Regions from separate parts of the Homo sapiens genome. Here region 2 is linked to region 1. Evidence: promoter capture Hi-C in 16 types of primary human blood cells and fetal thymus (Javierre and others, 2016). All regions are on one chromosome and are shown on one strand. Each heading gives the region's core, a stretch centred on a gene start or on the middle of the fragment in contact. The rest is flanking DNA. Distances are from core to core; before and after follow the strand shown.

Evidence for each region. The method cuts DNA at HindIII sites, captures the fragments that hold promoters and counts their contacts. A CHiCAGO score of 5 or more calls a contact.
Region 2: a contact is called between a fragment that was not itself captured here and the fragment with the promoter of SLC10A7 in region 1, in 1 of 17 cell types (fetal thymus). The highest score is 5.8, in fetal thymus.

What each region holds. Positions count from the first base shown.
Region 1 is chr4:146,519,050-146,523,473 of GRCh38, reverse strand. SLC10A7 (solute carrier family 10 member 7) reads left to right here and starts at 1,534. Exons shown (of 12, transcript NM_001029998.6): 1 at 1,534-1,856. The coding sequence starts at 1,757. RefSeq lists enhancers at 687-766, 937-1,356, 1,367-1,446, 1,667-1,736, 2,177-2,406. The HindIII fragment of the contact is 7,940 bases long and covers 1-2,733 here.
Region 2 is chr4:145,619,998-145,624,749 of GRCh38, reverse strand. The region is part of intron 1 of MMAA (metabolism of cobalamin associated A); the gene reads right to left. It also overlaps the pseudogene NCOA4P3. Among named protein-coding and RNA genes, the nearest start is that of MMAA, 3.0 kb to the right of the region's middle. The HindIII fragment of the contact is 3,337 bases long and covers 1,786-4,752 here.

The sequences.
Region 1 (4,424 bases), core at 285-2,784:
TCATGTACCTGTCTCTTTTCAGAGTAAACTGCTTAATGTCATCTATGTCTCCCTGTTAAGTTCTTTTTATCTTGAAATTAATTTTTTTTCATGTTGCCTGATGTATAATTAGATGACACTTGGTACTGTGTAACCTACAACTGGGAGCACAACTCTTAAAGTGGCTTAGTTTCTGGAAGTCTTGCCATCAAGATAAAGCTAAATTAAATAGAGGAAATGACACGACGAGTGTCTTTCCAGCTTTGAATAAATTCAGAATTAAAGTCTGTCATCACGAAACAATCTCTTCCAAACCTTAAGTTCTATTTTTAACCATTTAAGTGGCAGATGCCAGGTTATTTCAAAATATCACATACTATTTTCTTTCTTTCTTCATTTGGATGAATGATACAGTGGAGTTCATGCTCTTGCAGGGTCTACCGGTAGGAAGTCCATTCATGAAACCATCAATGTCACTGGTTGCCACAAGACATTTCAAGGAAGAAACTGGCAGATAGAACTAGCACTCGTGGCAATGGAAGGTAGGACTCCCCAACCTCTCAGACTCAATCCCCCACCACTTCCGCGTTGGAATCCGCGACCCTCTTCCCAGAGTTTTCCTGTGGCTTGGGTAGGTCAGCCCTGGGGGCGAGCCAGAGCGGGCACCCGCGCGCCCAGGGGCTTGCCAGCGCAGACCCCACTCCGCCCGCGAGTAGCTTAGTTGGTGGGGAGACTTCAGCTGTCACTCTCGGCCCGCAAAGGCAGATCTGCCCCGATCCCTGCAGCCCTCCCCAGTCCCGGAGACAGGTGTGGGCCGCAGAGGGAAGGGGATCCGGACCAAATGCCCACCCGCAGGCGAGCGACCTGGCGAGGTCGGGCCCACCTTCCTTGGGTTGTAGCGGACGCCGGCAAGCAGGGGTCCAGCGAACGTGGGCATCTGCCCGGCGCCGGATTTTCAACCCACCGCCAGAGATAAGGCTCCCCGCCCACCAGCGAGCCACTTTCCCGCGCGGACACCTCTAACTCCGGCAGCTCAGGCTGGGAACTCGGAGATCCAGAGTGGCCTCCCCTCCCCCCCGCGCATACGTCAGCGCTAGCGTCGTGGAAGCGCCGTAATGTCCCGAAGAAGCGCGTCTCCAAACTTGCACCCCGCTGCCGCAGCTTCAACGGAGAAATCCCTTGCCCCAAGCACACGTCAGCCCTGCCCGCGGAGTCATGGCACAGCAAAAGAGAGGCTCTCCATGGAGATATGCTCCAGAAGGGTGGGTGGCTGTGCCTAAAGGTTTGTTAGAAAAGGACAGTCAGTGAGGCTTGCTGGCTGTGGCGCCTTACGACGCTCTCCCCGACCCCTCGTCATTCAGAAGGTTCCGCAGGTCTCGACAGCGGTGCGCTTGTCAGCCCCATCCGGCGGCCAGCCTCCCTTGCCGGATCGCCCACGTTGTCGGCCTGGTCCGAGTTCTTCATTTCAAAGCATCTGCACCTGCGAGCCCGCGGCCAGAGGCGCTGGGGGCGTTTGTGCGCGTGTATTCTGAGGCGCGTGGTAGTGATGGCGGCGCTCAGTGAGACTTTCCTGTCACTGGCTACTACTACTCCCAACCCTCCTCAAAGCCGCCGGAGCAACCCCCAGGTCTTTACTTTACAATCGGCAATTTGACTTGCTCTGCTGCATGTCTGGAGGGACCAAGGAAAGTGTGGAGACGCTCCAAGGATTAGGTGATCGGAGCTTGAAAAGAAAAAAAGCCAAACAAATAAACAAAACCCACCCACCCTAACAAATATGAGGCTGCTGGAGAGAATGAGGAAAGACTGGTTCATGGTCGGAATAGTGCTGGCGATCGCTGGAGCTAAACTGGAGCCGTCCATAGGGGTGAATGGGGGTAAGTGCTGCACCTCTGCCGGCTCCACCGCGGCTCCCACTTCAGAACTAATTTGTGAGTCTTGGAAAGGTGGGGCAACCCTCATTGCAAGCGCTTGCCAATTTCAGGGGGCACTGACCAGCCTTTGGCCCTTTTGCTGATTTTCTAATTTACCAACCCCAGAGGGAACTTGTAATTAGGAACGAGGCAAAGGAATTTGAGGGCAGGTAGCCTTTTCCGTAGACAAACAATGACTATCCTGAGTGTCAAGAAGTGAGGTTACAGAGAATGAAACTTACTCCTCTTGCCTTCAAAGTAGCATCCTATCCCAAGGGAATCTAGGTTGCTAAGAGTTCCGTATCTATCTTGGAGTGGACCTCATTATCGAGTCTACTTTCGAGTCCTCCCCGCCCCCACATTAAAAAAAAAAGTGGAGGAAAAACAAGAAAAGGGACACCTCCGCCCCCAACTCAGATTTTATGGCCCACATGTTGGAGAGTGATGATTTGCTGTAGTTGCTGGTGCTCCAGAAACTCCCAAGCCGACTGACACGTTGCACTCTTTGATTACAGGACACTTCATTACAGCATACTTCCGTGTGCTGCCGGGATTCAGTTGCTATACTAGCAGTCTAACAGATACAGACTGTTAGACTATGTGTAGTGTAGTGTAGTGTGTGTTTTGGCAAGGAAATGTGGATGGACTGAAAGCATACTTAGATCTCTGAATAGTGGGAGCTTTGTACAGGAGATGATGGGCACTGGTGGGAACATTAGAAATATTAGTTTTTTATGCCCCCCCCAACACCTTTAGACAATCTTGTACTACTTTTCATAAACATTAATTGAATTTATTCAATTCGCTTGTCTTTTTGACCTTGTTTGTCAGTTTCCAAGCTTATTGACAGGTTTAATACCTAACTCATGCAACCGGAGCAAATAAGGATAGAGGTGAACAGGCACAATATTTCATAGTAGGAAGCGCTCAGGAGGATATTTGAAGTTATTTTTATCTTTTTGTTAAAACATGATGGAAGTGAATGAAATGATCTCTTAGGAGAACAGCAGTGGTCCCTTCTCCCCTTAACCTCCACCCCATTACTCTGTTTAGAAGTAGCTTCCGGGAACATTTTAAAAGGAATTATTTAAACCAAAATTGTGGAGATGAAGGATTGTTTGTTTTAAAATTTTGTTCTTCTGTATTCAACTTAGAACAAAATGTGTAGAATATGTAACTGTGAGAATAAAGCAGTTATTCCTGGTGGTTTCTCCCTCTGATTGATGGTAATAGTTTCTTCTTTAACACTGCTGCTCTGTGAACTTTTGGGAAACTCTTGTGAAGATCAGGTCTGTCAAATGAAGACCCCCTATCCCCGGAGCTAAATGAATAGTAAGACTTAGAGTACCTTTGCATGATCTGCAATGCACACTTCACTAGCTATCGCTTCTCGTGTTAGATCTCTTATTTGCTCAGTTTTGAGATGAAATTACAGAGGATGTATGATCTTTAACTTTAAATCTGCAGGGGCTAAGTTTGGCAAAATATCTTTTACCTTGCATTCCTAAATATTCTGTGGGAAGAAAGGTGTTGAATGCTGAATCATTTCCGTGGGGCTTTTCTGCAGTGGCATGTATGAGATAGATTCTGCAAACTTATGTGTTCCATAGACTCTGCTTATTAATATTTTGGTACATTATTGTATCATAGAAATGCCATTTCCCATTTCCACTAGTCCTTCTGTCTTTAATGTAGGATAATTCATTCCTTTGTTTAATTATAATAGAATGTTAAGAGGGGGAGGGGAATATTTAAAGTGTTTTAAGCCAACATGCTTCTTTTACAGTTGAAGATACCAGGTGACTCTCTCTAGGTTAAGGTAGCTAGCTTAGGGAAGAGGAACTATTGGAGACCAGGGTATTTAAAATTCCTGGGAAACTTCTACTTCCCAAGCAAGCCAGATTCCTTGACTTTAAAATCTGCTCCTGAATCACCTTGCTTAGCTGCTGAAGAAATATTACCTGTGTGAGCTGCTGAGACAGATTCACTAACAAATATAAAGATAATGTACCTCTTATAAAAGTTTTTGAGCAGCCTTCACTGCCCCCAAATGCAATGCCTTTTGCACTTGCCTTCTCCCTTTCTTTCCCTTTTCTTAGATCTCAGCAAAATGATTTGTGTAAATGCCAGGCATATTAAATAATTTATTACAGCATTTGAGGAAATCTTTGTTTCTTTTATTCATTGTTGTACTACAAATGCCTAAGACATAGTAGGTCATCTCTCTCTATATATAGATAATATTATATATTATGTTAAATAATGTATTATATATTATCATATTATATATTATGTTATATATTGTATATAATATGTTATATATTATATAAAATATATTATTATATATAATATATATTCTCTCTCAGAGGGGCCTTGAGATATTATGTATATTATATATTATGTACATTATTGTATCATATATTATATATTATGTTATATACATAATATATATTAATTATATATTATATTATATATATATATATATATATATATATATATATATATATATATATATGGTGATTTTTCCTGAGC
Region 2 (4,752 bases), core at 2,205-4,704, 900 kb after region 1:
GAAGGCTCTGTATAAGTGGCTTCTGAACAAAGAAGGAAAGGATAAAAATGGGATGCCCATGGAACCCAAACCTGAGCCTGAGAAACATAAAGATTCCCTGAATATGTGGCTCTGTCCTTCTAGTAAAGAAGTAATAGAACTAAAGCACCAAAGTCAATGGTTCCTTCTAGAATTGCTGGTTCCTTCTAGAATTGCTGATTCCTTCCAAGTCATAAAGAACAGCACCTTGTCAGAGTGGCTTATCAGGCCCCCATACAAAGAAGGAAGTCCTAAGAAAGGGCCTAATACTGAAGACAAAGCTGGCAAACAAAAGCTAAAAAGCCCCATGAGCACTTCCTGGTGTTCCTTTAACACAGCTGACTGGCTCCTGCTGGGAAAGAAGATGGGCAACCTCAGCCAGCTATCCTCTGGAGAAGACAAGTGACTGCTTCGAAAGAAGACCTAGAAGTATTACTTAATTCACCTCTACAGGAGGAATATAACTTCCCCCCAGACCATTATGGCCTCCCTGCAGTTTGTGATCTCTTTGCCTGTATGCAGCTTAAAGTTGATAAAAAGAAGTGGTTATATCAAACTCCTCTACAGATGTGAAGGAGTGGACAAGAGTTGAGCAGCCTTTCTGCTGATTATCACACATCATGAGCTGAGTGACTGTGGCTTGCCAAATCATTGTGTTTCTGGGTCTGACCAGTTAGCTTAGTTCTTCTCCTGCCTAATTTTGAACTAGTAAAGTGAAGTGAGTCATCAGATTATAAGTTACTGTTTAAAAGAAAAATGTTGTGTATTGATGCTGAGCTGATTCAGTTCCTTCCTTCTTACAGAAGTGTTAATTCACCCCCACACCAGAAATGCAGCATCTTTGTGGGTATGTCTTTTTCACAAGCCTCCAAGGCTCCTTAGATCAGGTCGTTACTAAAAGTACATTAAAACACTCAAGTTTTAAAAATGAAATATTTCTGTAATCGAAGTGTATTAATGTATTCTAAAGCTAGTAAACTTCCCTAACGTTTAATTGCCCTATAGATGCTTCTCTAGCTGTGGGTTTTCTTCTGTTACTGGTCTGAAATAATGATTTTCCTAGTCTATTAATATACAGTGTATTTTGCACAAAAAATTAACCTGGCCAATAGTGATTACCAAAATATATATTAATAATCTTGGAACTTTTGACATTAATTACCAAACATTTTAGACTACATGTTCTACATTATTATTCTTCACTTGAAAGAAACTCAGCTACTGCAAATTTTGTCTTTCTTTCTTTCTGTAAATGTTATTAAAATATCCAGTGAGCTCTTTTAGAAGGGCTCGGTATTATTTCAAGACTATTTTTGAGGTAGTTCTAGCCTTTTAAAATATTCTACACACCTGTGGGGTTCAAAAGAACCCTAGTACCAACTAAGCAAATAGGCAAAAGACATGTTGGAAATGTAGTATAGTACTTGAACCATTCACTATCATAGGGATTATTGGTGCATCCTGGGTAATGGAAGTGGAGCTTGACACCTGGTGCTTTTAACCAGGGATAAAGTCATCCTCTCACTGTAAGTACAGTATACCTGTACCTCCAAAAGTGACATTTTAGTGAACAGGCCATTTTCAACACTTGTGCCTTGGGGTGTTCATTGAAGCTTTATGAAAACTACTGATGTTTTCTCAATCTCCTTAAAGTTATGTCCATGCTTTAAAATGTCTCTGTAAGAGAGAAGTGGGTTTTATATTTATAATGTTTTTAAATTCTCTAAGATATATTTGCTGCTTTCCAGACTTTGAAACTATTAAGCTTCTTAACTGCCTCTTATTGAAATACTTCTGGGGAAACTTCATGGACTCACAGTGTCATTGCCATACAGCTTCACTAGAGTTCTCTGAACCACAGCTGAAAGAGCTTTGTATTATTTTTTAATTCCCTCCCCAGACATCATATAGAACTATTATAATAAAGGTGGTGGGCAAAAAACAATGTAAGGAGCCTTTCCAGTTATCTTAAGTTGCAGCTAACTCTGTAGTTTCTTTTTTGAGGCCAAACACACTGTATTTTACATTGTCAAAATATAGTTTACATTAATCACTATGTTAATGAGTATGTAAAACATTATTTTGCATTGATGAATTTTGTATCTGCCTCCATCAAAAGCATAACAGCCATAAAATAATAATAATCAAATCAAAATGTTTCAACTAATTTTCATGATTCCCGAGAATATGGCTTCATCCTACAATTTGTAAGCTAAGCACTATCAAAATACAAGAGAAATTCCCCAGCTTTACAAGATTCAGTAAGATATCTCAAAAGTAGGCCATATCTAGTATATTAGTCTGATTTCAGGCTGCTGATAAAGACATACCCGAGACTGGGTAATTTATACAGGAAAAAGGGTTTAATGGACTTACAGTTCTATGTGGCTGAGGAAGCCTCACAATCATGGCTGAAGGCAAGGAGGAGCAAGTCATGTCTTACATGGATGGCAGCAAGGAAAGAGAGAGCTTGTGTAGGGAAACTCCCATTTTTAAAACCATCAGATCCCATGAGACTCATTCACTATCATGAGAACAGCACAGGAAAGACCTGTCCCCATAATTCAATCACCTCTCACCAGGCTCCTCCCATGACACATGGGGATTGTGGGAGTTACAATTCAAGATGTGATTTGGGTAGGGACACAGCCAAACCATATCAGTTATCTTTGTATTTATAGCACAATTATTTGCTCACAGAATTAATGAATGTACACCATAATTCTGCATGGGTCAATAACTCCACTACACTGATTACTCAGTTAATTGATGTTTCTAAAATGTACATTTTTTTCTAGATTTTACAGTAATATATTTTAAGGACTTTCTTTTTAAACTGATTTCAATATATGGATATTTTCCTTCATTAAAAATTTGCTCAGCAGCAGCCAGTCTGACTTGGGATATTTATCTTGAAATTGATCCAATGAATATTCTCAATTTCAATAACTACTCTGGCAAGAAAAAGCATACAGAATTTCCTAAATCAATACAGTAGATCAGTGTCTGCAGCACAGCACAATTCGTACAGGCAATGCAGTGTTGTACCAAGTGTTTCCATTTCTCAATGCTAATCACTTTTGATTTGAAGATAAGCTGTCAAATGCCATTAATCTGTTTACCATATTCCACCCCCCCCAACCACAGAAGGCTTTATTTTCTCTTTTTCAAATAATTTCAGGAAACTTTTGTAGAGCAGGATGACTTCTTAAATAAGCAACTTTTAAATAGGTTTTAAATAGGTCATCATGAGTTAAGAGTAATAAAGAACAAATACCAAATTCATGAAGGGATTCTCTAAAGTTCTCTGTCCACTTTACTTTTTATCACTTTTCCAGTAAGATTCAGATTTCCCAATTCCTACTTTTAGGCTTAAATGTGCTTGAGAAGTCTCTATTTTTCTAAATTCCATCACCATTAAATGTTTTGATTCCCACTGCTACCACCCTATTTCAAATCCAGGCTTGAACTAGGAAGCTCTGAGACCAACTATGGAACCTGGGTAATTTCTCATATTCTCAAAGTTCCTTCACTTACAAAATGAAAACATTAAGATCTACGTATCAGGATCATGGTGAGTATAAATGAGTATGCATGAGAGAGCCTGGCACAGGGCCTGGCATCAAGCAGGTGCTAATCACCTCTAAGAAACTTTCCTCTTTTCTCTCTCCCTCCTCAGTCCTCCTTTCAGACTTCACAGCAAGACTCATTCTGAAAGGTGAATGTGATCTCCTTAGCCTCCTACTCAAATTCCTCCAAAAGTTCACCGTACCCTAGGACAGTGGTTCTCAAAGTGTAGTCCCCAGGCCAGCAGCACCTCTTGCGCTTGCCTTTCCAAAATTCCTCTAAGGAGAGTTTACTATCTTCCAAACCTGCCAACTCTCCCAACCCCAAGATTTAACTCATCTTTTACATCCTTCCCCCTCTATGATATCTCTCCTATACTACCCAGCTTAAAATCTTTCCTGACCATCCCAGTCTCTAGGACTTTTTCTGACCTCTAATTCCAATTATTTCTGAATACAAAGAGTCTTCATCTTACAATCGGGTCTGTGTCTGGATAAACCCACTGTAAAGTCAAAAAATCTTTAACTGAACCATTGTGTAAGTGTAGGACTGTACTAAGGTGAAAATCTGCAGAGGTCACAAACTAGTTGCACCTGGCCCACCCACAGAAGGTGTGTGTTAACTAAATTGGTTGCAAGTAACATTAAAAATCAAGAAAAAATACGTAAAAATACAGATCTTTGGCCTGTGTTGGAGAAAATCGGATCTGCGTTTGAGAGACCCCCATTCCCACATGGCAACAATCAGCTAAATGGTAAATGTTTCGAGCATTCACCAGCTCTTTCCATTCTAAATAAAGGTTTTCTTTTGACATCTTCAAATATCTCAAATGGTGATTTACATTTCTTATGGATATGTAACTTTTCATGCTTGTTTTGTCTCTCCTAATAGAATACAGCCCTTAAAAAACCTGTCCTTGTCTTTGACTTTTTAAAAACCTCTTGTTACCCTGAACACAAACCGGTATTTAGTGCAAAATTATTGTAAAAGAATATTCTGAACATTGTAGACAACAGCAAAATGCTGAATAATCCACACAGTTTTTCTGGAAACTTTTGGCTTTCTACCAAGTTGGAAAAGTTTTATTAGTTTATGTTTTCTAAACATATGGATTAGGGTACAACTCTTAAGACAGATAATAAAAAATTTTTATATTATTTTGGTTTA